Linked DNA regions of Homo sapiens: region 2 is linked to region 1. Evidence: promoter capture Hi-C in human tissues and cell types (Jung and others, 2019). All regions are on one chromosome and are shown on one strand. The core of a region is centred on a gene start or on the middle of the fragment in contact, and the rest is flanking DNA. Distances in the headings are between cores, read along the strand shown.

The links. Contacts are between HindIII fragments. The study calls those that stand out against the background at their distance.
Region 2: the fragment with the promoter of SLC22A7 here is called in contact with the fragment with the promoter of DNPH1 in region 1 in 3 of the 25 tissues and cell types used here (IMR-90 fibroblasts, adrenal gland and stomach).

Annotation. Positions count from the first base shown.
Region 1 is chr6:43,227,289-43,231,920 of GRCh38, reverse strand. It overlaps DNPH1 (2'-deoxynucleoside 5'-phosphate N-hydrolase 1), which reads left to right and starts at 2,440. Exons shown (of 4, transcript NM_006443.3): 1 at 2,440-2,660. The coding sequence starts at 2,465. RefSeq lists silencers at 2,142-2,581, 2,642-2,831 and an enhancer at 2,159-2,658. The HindIII fragment of the contact is 36,780 bases long and covers 1-4,632 here.
Region 2 is chr6:43,295,464-43,300,095 of GRCh38, reverse strand. It overlaps SLC22A7 (solute carrier family 22 member 7), which reads right to left and starts at 1,836. Exons shown (of 11, transcript NM_153320.2): 1 at 1,345-1,836; 2 at 999-1,004; 3 at 603-706; 4 at 315-469; 5 at 30-198. The coding sequence starts at 1,737. LOC124901319 (a long non-coding RNA gene) reads left to right here. Exons shown (of 2, transcript XR_007059582.1): 2 at 280-1,154. The HindIII fragment of the contact is 32,193 bases long and covers 1-4,632 here.

The sequences.
Region 1 (4,632 bases), core at 1,191-3,690:
AGAAAGAAAGAAAAAGAAAGAAAGAAAGAAGAAAGAAGGAGGAAGGAAGGAAGGAAAGGAAGGACGGGAGGGAGGAAGGAAGGAAAGAAAGAAAAAGAAAGAAAGAAGAAAGAAAGAGAAAGAAGGAAAGAAAGAAAAGAAAGAAAGCAGGAATACAGCAGTGAACGACCTTCTACTAGGTATAGAAAAACATGCAACAAAATTAATAAGTTATATGGTGTATGAGAAGGAGAAAAGGCAAGGTAGGGAAGGGTGATAGAGAGTACTGGGGGATGGAGGGCTGCCATATTGAATAGGGTGATCAGGGAAGGTGAAGTGTGAACAAAGACTTGAAGGAAATGAGGAGTGAGCCAGGAAGCTACCTGGGAGAACAGTGTTCCGGGCAGAGGGAACAGCAAATGCAAAGACTCTGAGGCAAGGGCATGGCTGACATGCTTAAGGAACAGCCAGGAAGCCAGTGAGGTGGCAGAGAAGTGAATGAAAGTAATAGAAGCTGGAGTTAGGGAAGTAAGAGGGTGACAGGATCATCTGGAGCCTTGTGAGCTACTGTGAGGTTTTCAGTTTTTACCCCAAGTGAGATGGGAACCACTGGAGGGTTTTGAGCAGAGGAGGGTCATGACCTAGATCACTCAAGCTGCTGAGTGGAGAGCAAACTGTAGCAGGGAAGGGCCAGGGGAGGTGTATAGAGAACCCTTGACATAAGTAATTCCATCTTAGAAAGACTCCATCACTGGGCACATTCGCTTATGCCTGTAATCCCAGCGCTTTGGGAGGCTGAGGTAGGGGGATTGCTTGGGTCTAGGAGTTTTGAGACCAGCCGTGGAAACATAGTGAGACCTCGTCTCTACAATTTTTTTTTTTTTGAGATGGAGTTTCACTCTGTTGCCTAGGCTGGAGTGCAGTGGCGTGATCTTGGCTCACTGCAACCTCTGCCTCCCGGGTTCAAGCGATTCTCCAGCCTCAGCCTCTGGAGTAGCTGGGACTACAGGAGTGTGCCACCACGCCTGGCTAACTTTTTGTATTTTTAGTAGAGACGGGGTTTCACCGCGTTAGCCAGGATGGTCTCGATCTCCTGACCTCGTGATCTGCCCACCTCGGCCTCCCAAAGTGCTGGGATTACAGACATGAGCCACCGAGCCCAGCCAATTTTTTTTTTATTAGCTCAGCATGGTGGCACGTGCCTGTAGTCCTAGCTACTCAGGAAGCTGAGGTGGGAGGATTCCTTGAACCCTCAAACTTGAGGCACGAGTTTGAGGCTGCAGTGAGCAATGATCGTGCCTCTGCACTCCAGTGTGGGCGACAGGGACCTTGTCACCAAAAATAATAAATAAATAAATAAATAAAGTTTTAAAAAACTTCATCTTACATTTCAAAAGGCATCAAGCCAACAGGGTCCAGATGTTCGCCTAACCAATGGAGACAACACCCAACCAGATAAGGGCATCACCCTTTACTATAAGTCCTCATCAGAGGACTCAAGGACCATAAAATGATCAGGACTTCAGCAGCTAGACACGGCCACCTTAACAGACCGAGTCTTGCTATCACTCGTGCCCAGCACCTGGTGTCTGCCTCTGAAGGCTCTGCCCAAATCAAGGACTCTTCCTTGCAAGCTCTTGATGACTATCCCCATCAGGCCGGGACTCTGTCCACAGCACTCTCCTTGGACTGGTTCGTTAACCCCTTTTCTCTTGATGTTAAATGTTCTTGTGTTTGATGTGAAATTTTAACCTGTAACATTTATATCCTTACATATAATACTATGGATGGTTTGCAATACAGTCTGACTTGTGGAGTGGCTCCAGCTTGCATGCCCGCGGCTCTGACTACCGAGTGAACAGGTGGTCCTAAGGAGAACTGACTTCTTGGGAACTCCGTGTGACGCCTAGCTTTTGTGATTGAAATAGCATCAGTAAAAACCTGATCTTGTGGACAGACACAAAGGTGGGTGGACCTGGTTCTGTCTGACCTTGAGCAGCTCACGACATGTGGACACCTGTTAGGAGGCTGTGGAGAGCCCAGAGGAGGCTTAGACCAGGGTGGTGGCCCTGTAGGCGGTCGTGAGATTTCAGATTTGGAAGGACGAATCCACACGAGTTGTCAATGGATGGGACGCAGAGTTTGAGAGAAAGGGAACGATCCAGATGACTCCGAGGGTCTTGGGCCTGAGCAGCTGGGAGGATGCAGCTGGGGAAGACGGCGGGGAGGAGGGGAGCAGAAGCGGGTGAGGTGGGGAAGCCCTCGAGTTCTGCCTGGACAAGGTCAAGTTAAGGTGCGTGTTAGGCATCCGAACGTCAAGTCCAGGAAGGGTGTGTTCCCGAAAGGGTCCCGGCTGGATCCTCCCAGTTCGTCGTCCCCATTCCACAGGTGTGGACTCAGCAGCCGGGCTCTGCGCTGGGCCGGGCGGGGTCACGTGGCCGCGGGCTGGCGCCCCCTGGCGCCGGAGAGCGCGGGCGGCTGGGGAATGGCTGCTGCCATGGTGCCGGGGCGCAGCGAGAGCTGGGAGCGCGGGGAGCCTGGCCGCCCGGCCCTGTACTTCTGCGGGAGCATTCGCGGCGGACGCGAGGACAGGACGCTGTACGAGCGGATCGTGTCTCGGCTGCGGCGATTCGGGACAGTGCTCACCGAGCACGTGGCGGCCGCCGAGCTGGGCGCGCGCGGTGAGGCCCTGGGGCCGCGGGACGCGGGGACGCGGGCGCGGACCTGGCTGGGGTGGCAGGGACCCGGCCTGTCCGCCCCCCCGACCCCCGGCAGCTGCGCTCCCGGCGCCCGGAGCCCGCCCTCCTACCCCGGTGCTCCATCCAGCGCCCCAGCCCGAGAAGGAAACGGGCCGGGGCTCGGGCTGCGTGGGTCCCAGCAAGCCTGCGGGTGTAAGGCAGACTCAGCATTATCTTGACCTTTGGTTCCTTCTTGGAGAACTCTGTCTTCAGCTGCTTTCAGAGCGTTTGTAGGGTGCAACAGAAAGAAGGTAGATTGGGCTGCTTTGCTTGGGCTCAGTTCCCACCTCACCCGCTGGAATCTTTTCCACCACCCAACACGAAAGGTATCCTCCTGCCTCCCCACCAACTTTTTTTGTTTTGTTTTGTTTTGTTTTTGAAACGGAATCTCACTCTGTCGCCCAGGCTGGAGTGCAGTTGCGTGATCTCGGCTCACTGCAACCTCGACCTCCCGGGTTCAAGTGATTCTCTTGCCTCAGCCTCCCGAGTAGCTGGGACTACAGGCACGCGTCACCACACCCGGCTACTTTTTGTATTTTTAGTAGAGACGGTGTTTCACCATATTGGTCAGGCTGGTTTCGAACTCCTGACCTCAGGTGATCTGCCCGCCTCGGCCTCCCAAAGTGCTGGGATTACAGACAGGAGCCACCGCCCAGGGCCTGCCTCCCCTTTTTCTGTGAAGACATCAGCACTCTTTTAGACCTGGCTGACCCCAGTTCTCACTATTACCCTCTCTCACATTTTTGTTTTGTTGATACAAGGGCCTCTCTGTCGCCCAGGCTGGAGTGCAGTGGTGCGATCATAGCTCACTGCAGCCTCGGCTTCCTAAACTCATGATCCTCCAGCCTCAGCCTCCTATTAGCAAGGACTGCAGGGGCACGACACCATGCCTGGCTCAAAATTTTTCTGTAGAGATTGGGAGTCTCACTATGTTGCCCAGTCTGGTCCCGACCTCCTAGCCTCAAGTGATCCTCCCGCCTCAGGCCTCCCGAAGTGCTGGGACTATAGATGTGAGCCCCCATGCTGGCCTCATATTCTCTTTCAGGCCATTATTGTGTTCTGCTCCTGGCTGCTGGGTTTTTCTTTCTCTTTCTATTTATTTAGTTATTTATTTGGAAACAGTCTTGTTCTATTACCCATGCTGGAGTGCAGTGGCAAAATCTCAGCTCACTGCTAACCTCTGCCTCCCGGGCTTGAGCAATCCTCCCACCTCAGCCTCCCAAGTAGCTGGGACTACAGGTGTGTGCCGCCATACCTGGTTAAGTTTTGTATTTTTTATAGGGACGGGATTTTGCCATGTTGGCCAGGCTGGTCTTGAACTCCTGAGCCCAAGTGATCTGCCTGCCTCAGCCTCCCAAAGTGTTGGGATTACAGACATGAGCCGCTGAGTCTGGCTGGATTTCTCTAAAGCATATTTGATGTGCTGGTCTGGAATCTTGCAGATCCTTCCAGTTTGAAAATTGTATCTTGAATGCTTGTGCTTCTGCTCAGAAAACCTTAAGTGGTTTCCACTTATCCTACCCAAGAGCAGACCCACAATTTGTGGGACCTCATGCAATTCTGGGAGACCTCTTTAAAAAGACAAAAATCACAATACAAAGTTGCTGATGGTTTGGAAAGGGCCTGTGCAAGTGGAGGACCCTGAAGCTTACAGCTCATTAGTTCATGGTATATCCAGACTGCCTGGTGGCTCTCCAGGTCTTTAGTGTCATCTGAGGGAGCCTGTTAAAAATGCAGGTTCTGATCATCTGGGATAAAGCCTTCGAATATGTACTTTTTTTTTTCCCCCAAGACAGAGTCTTGCTCTGTCGCCCAGGGTGGAGTGCAGTGGAGTGATCTCCGCTCATTGCAACCTCCTCCTCCCAGGTTCAAGCAATTTTCCTGCCTCAGCCTCCCGAGTAGCTGGGATTACAGG
Region 2 (4,632 bases), core at 587-3,086, 69 kb before region 1:
CCCGCTCCCCAGCTGCCTGCAGTCCTCACCAGAGGCTGAGGATGCCTGGGGCACAAGGCAGGGTGACAGCTAGCAGAAGCCATCGCCAGTCCCGTATCAGGTACCCAACCAGTGCCAGCAGCATCACGCCCCCTGTCCAGAAGGTGCTGCTCAGGACTCCAGCCACGGTGCGGTGCTCCACATCCAGCCACTCCAGCTCTGGGCCAGGACAGGAGACAGGAAGATGGTTAGTGAGGACCAGATGGGCTCAGCCTCACTCTGACAACTGCCTTCTTCCAGCCCTCTAGGTCCTGCCTGTTTCTTGCCTGCCTCACCCAGTGGCATCACGATGATGGTAAAACCAGCCAGGGCTGAGCCAGTAAGGGTGCGGGTGATGGCAAACATTACATAGCTGACGGAGGCTGCAGATGCCAGGCCCAGCACCAGGGTACTCACGTAGGCTACCAGCAGCAGACGCCGCCGCCCAAACCTGCAAAGGGGTCATGCAGGGTCAGTTCCCTGTGGAAGGAGGTTCTAAGGCATAGGTAGACTAGGCTCATACCCCAGCTAGTGGGAGAAAGTTCCCCCAGCCAGTTTCTTATTGGCCCAGTGCCTCACCCCACCTGTCGGACAGATATCCAAAGGCCACAGCCCCCACCAGCACACCGGCGAAGAAGAAAGTGGACGCAGCTCTGTTCAGACCTTTCTGCTCACACACCAGATCCCACTGCAAGGACAGGCAGAAAGGGACCTCCTATGAACATCAGCCCCTCTCCAGCAGGCACCAGCTCCTCCTCTCCAGACCCTGGAGCCTTCTGAGGCGAACTCTGCCATTCTGGTACCTCCATGCCAGATAATAAACCTCCCAACGATTCACGCCAGCTTGGGGAATAGGAAACTTTGTCCCTCCCCAGTCCTGCAGCCTCAGCTTCTTCCCAAGGAAGGCCTCGACCTGCTGCCTCCCAGGGAGACTGCCTCCACCGACATTCCACCTCCAGATGGATTATGTAAATACCGACCTGGGACTGGAAAAGAGGAAGGGAGAAAAGAAGGCCTCTATTGTTTCTCCACCTCTTGCTGCAGAAATTGCCTTCTCAGCTCTTTGTCTCAACTCCCTGAAGCCACTTTAGCCCTTCCCTGCCTTAATCACCTCCCAATTAATGATGATGATAACAGTTCTTGTGTAGGATCCTGTTACTACAAGCCATGAACTAAAAGTGCCTTATATTCATAGCCCCCATCTACAGATTGGTAAACTGAGACTTTAAGAGGTAAAGTAATACATCTAATGCCTACACAGTAACCACCCAAGGCAATGGCAGGCCCATCCCTCTCACATGTCTCTCAACTTCTGGGCTTAAGTACCTCAGTTGCAATGGTAGAGGAGAATTCTGAGTGGTCGTACTCCCAGCCCTGAGAGCAGGGCACTGTGGCAGGTTCATCCTCCAGCTCCCCACGGCTCTGCCTTTCTTCCCCCAACGTGGTGTTGGGGAGAGCCTGGGGATAGGCAAAGCGGAGGCAGGAGCTGAGCGTGCCATCAGGCTCCCGGGGAAGATGGGCCTCCAGCCACACATCCTGATGGCTGAAGTTGGCAGGGGCACCCGGCAGGGCACATCGGTGGGCAGGCACGGCAGCCAGGAAGATGGGCAGGAGGAAGTGCAGTGGTAGCAGCACTCGGGGCAGGGCCAGCAGTGCCACATTCCGCAGTTGGAAGGGCCCAAAGCCGCCCACCTGCTCCAGCAGCTCCTCAAAGCCCATGCTGCTCACCCACCAAATGCTTCAGGTGCAGCCTCCCTCTAGTATCCAGCCAGCTCAAACTGCCCACCACATAGACCCTTGGACTCTGGAGGTGGGAGTGGATGGACTGGAGAGCCTGCAGCCAGAATCCAGCCCTCAGGGGCTGGCCCAGGACTGGGCCCTCCCCAGCCATCAGGTCTCCAGGGACCTCTACCTGTCTTGCCTGGTGCCTGGGGGAAGGGGAAGCCATCCATTCAGAGGTCACTGGCTCGTGGCTCTGGGGCTTACCCATTAGTGTTCAGGGACCAAGGCTACCATGATGAGGTAGCTGGGTGATGGCATAGGAGGTGAGCCCCTAGCCCCTTGGTCAGCAGAGCTCCCAGGATCCCTAAGAAGAGGAGGCCCCTGGGGCCTGGGGCCAGCTCTCCCAGGGTGCCCTTTGTCCTGTGAGACCTTAGGTCAGCCTTGCCTATTTGCAGCTACAGCCATGGCCTGGCCGACAGCCCAGGATTCAGGACTGAAAGCTGGATCCTAACCAGGTTTCTTTCTGCTGAGCCATGAGGCCTCCTCGCATCCCTCTCCCCTGCTGGGAGCTGATGCCCTGGCCTAAGACACACCTGTGATCACACCGGGCAACTTGATGTCTCTGAGGATCCCAGGCTCATCCCATTCCCACTTCACTCAGGGACTCTCCCCATACATATGGTTCCAACTGCCTGTCCCATTCCCCTATTTCCAGCAGCTTCCTAAATTACCTTTTGGAGGGATAGGGAATGGCGGGGGACATGTTGCCAAGGTACCTGCAATGCCTAAGATTACCTTTTGGAGGGGTAGGGAATGGGGGAGGGGGAGTTACCAAGGTCTTGTCAAAGGTACATGCAATACCTAAGACTCAAATGTTCAATCTGACCCTCCCACTCAATTCTCAATCATGGTCCCTGCAGCAAAAGTACAGCAGAAACCAGCAATGTCTGGTTTATTCTCATCTGATTCTCCAAACACTTAGCTGGCAGACCCACTGGTTTAATCCAGCTCCTACTTTGAACAGGTCAGAAAACTAAAGACAGGGAGGGGACCTGCTGGGGTCACACAATGACTCAGCAGCAGAGCTGAAGAAAAGACCAGGTCCCCTGACTCCAGACCAGGAATCTCACTTTTGACCTAAGCTGCTGAGCTGGTGATGTCCCAGTCTGCTCCAGGCTGGGATCCCTGAGAAAGCGCTGGGAAAGGAGCTAAATCGATGGCATGGCGTGTGTTAATGGGGGTGCTGACAGCCATGGAGTGAAGCAAGAGGCAGCTAATGGTGGTGGCAGTGACAGGGGGTGACAATGAGAAGAAATGTTTGAGTCTCTAGTGCATCCTCGCCATTCTAGAGGGTACATAGATGCCTCAGACACGGTCCCTACCCTTAGGGAGCTTACAGGAGGGTTAAAATAAGCTAACCCTCCCTGTCTCCAGTCTCACCCCTTTCAACCCATTCTCCATACACTGGCCACAGTGAACATTTAAACACAAATCTAAGAGGGTCACATCCCTGTTTAAAACCCTTCACCAGCTTCTGCTGCCTGAGGGGGAAAGTCTAGCTCCTTAGCTTGGCCCTTATGACTTCCCTAGGACTAGATCCTCTCCCCCAGTCCACCCCTGACCCCTCTCCAACATGCTCCCTTCCCTCTAGTTCTCTGCACACACCAGCTCATTGGCATGTCACACCCTAGTGTGGTCCCTTGGACAATGTGGCTTCCTCCTCATTCACCAAGTGGATGCCCAAACCTCCCTGAAGACCAGCTCAAGGGGAGACACCTCCACCCTTCTCATCCTCACTCACGTGTGACCTCACACTGTTGGTTCCTCCCTCATTTAATACTATGTAATGATATTATTAATATAAAATGTATAAAATACCATAACACTTTGCAGCTCCTGAGAGGTAAGTTTTGTGGTCACCCCATCTCCATGTCCCATCCAGTGGCTCCACAGGGTAATACTCTGAAGTTTTTTCACAGCCAGAGAAGACAGCTAACGAGGCCAACCTCAGCCATTGGCTGTGACGACTTAGTTTTCACAATGGGAATTTCTCTCCTGCTTTAATATCAGAAATAGCTGATAATCATGCAGTGGTTACCTCTCCCTCCTGACATTGGCTCCTAGGAAACTCAAATCTAAATCTGCAGCCCTGGCCAGGCACAGTGGCTCATGCCTGTAATCCCAGCACTTTGGGAGGCCAAGGCGGGTGGGTCACCTGAGGTCAGGAGTTTGAGACCAGCCTGGCCAACATGGCAAAACTGTCTCTACCAAAAATACAAAAAATTAGCTGGACATGGGGGCAAGCGCCTGTAATCTCAGCTACTCAGGAGGCTGAGGCAGGAGAATTGCTTGAATCTGGGAGGTGGAGGTTGTAGTGAGCCGAGATCGTGCGACTGCACTCCAGCCTGGGCAACAGGAGTGGAACTCTGTCTCAAAAATAAAAAATAAATAAATCTGCAGCCCCTTTCTCCAGAGAGTAATTTGGCATTAATTTTACCTCTGGCTCCATCTTATTCCCTGGCCCTACCTCATAGGGAAGCTCTCTTCTCTGATGTCATTGAAGAATGATGGTGACAGTGACCATGATGGCTGATGATGGAGCTGGACAGGCAGGTATGAAATGCTGAGTCTAACCAGAGGATGGATAGATCAACTCTGAATCACCAGTTAAGAGCTGGTTTTGATTATATTTTAACCATCCTCCCACCCCTCCAACCTGGGAATTCTAACCTGAGCTCAGAGGCCAAGGTAGAGACCTTCATTTATACCAAACTGGATGGAGAGGAGCCTTGTGCAATGGAAAATAACTCCTGGCCAGGCATGGTGGCTCACGCCTGTAATCCCAGCACTTTGTGAGGCAAAGGCGGGTGGATCACTGGAGGTCAAGAGTTC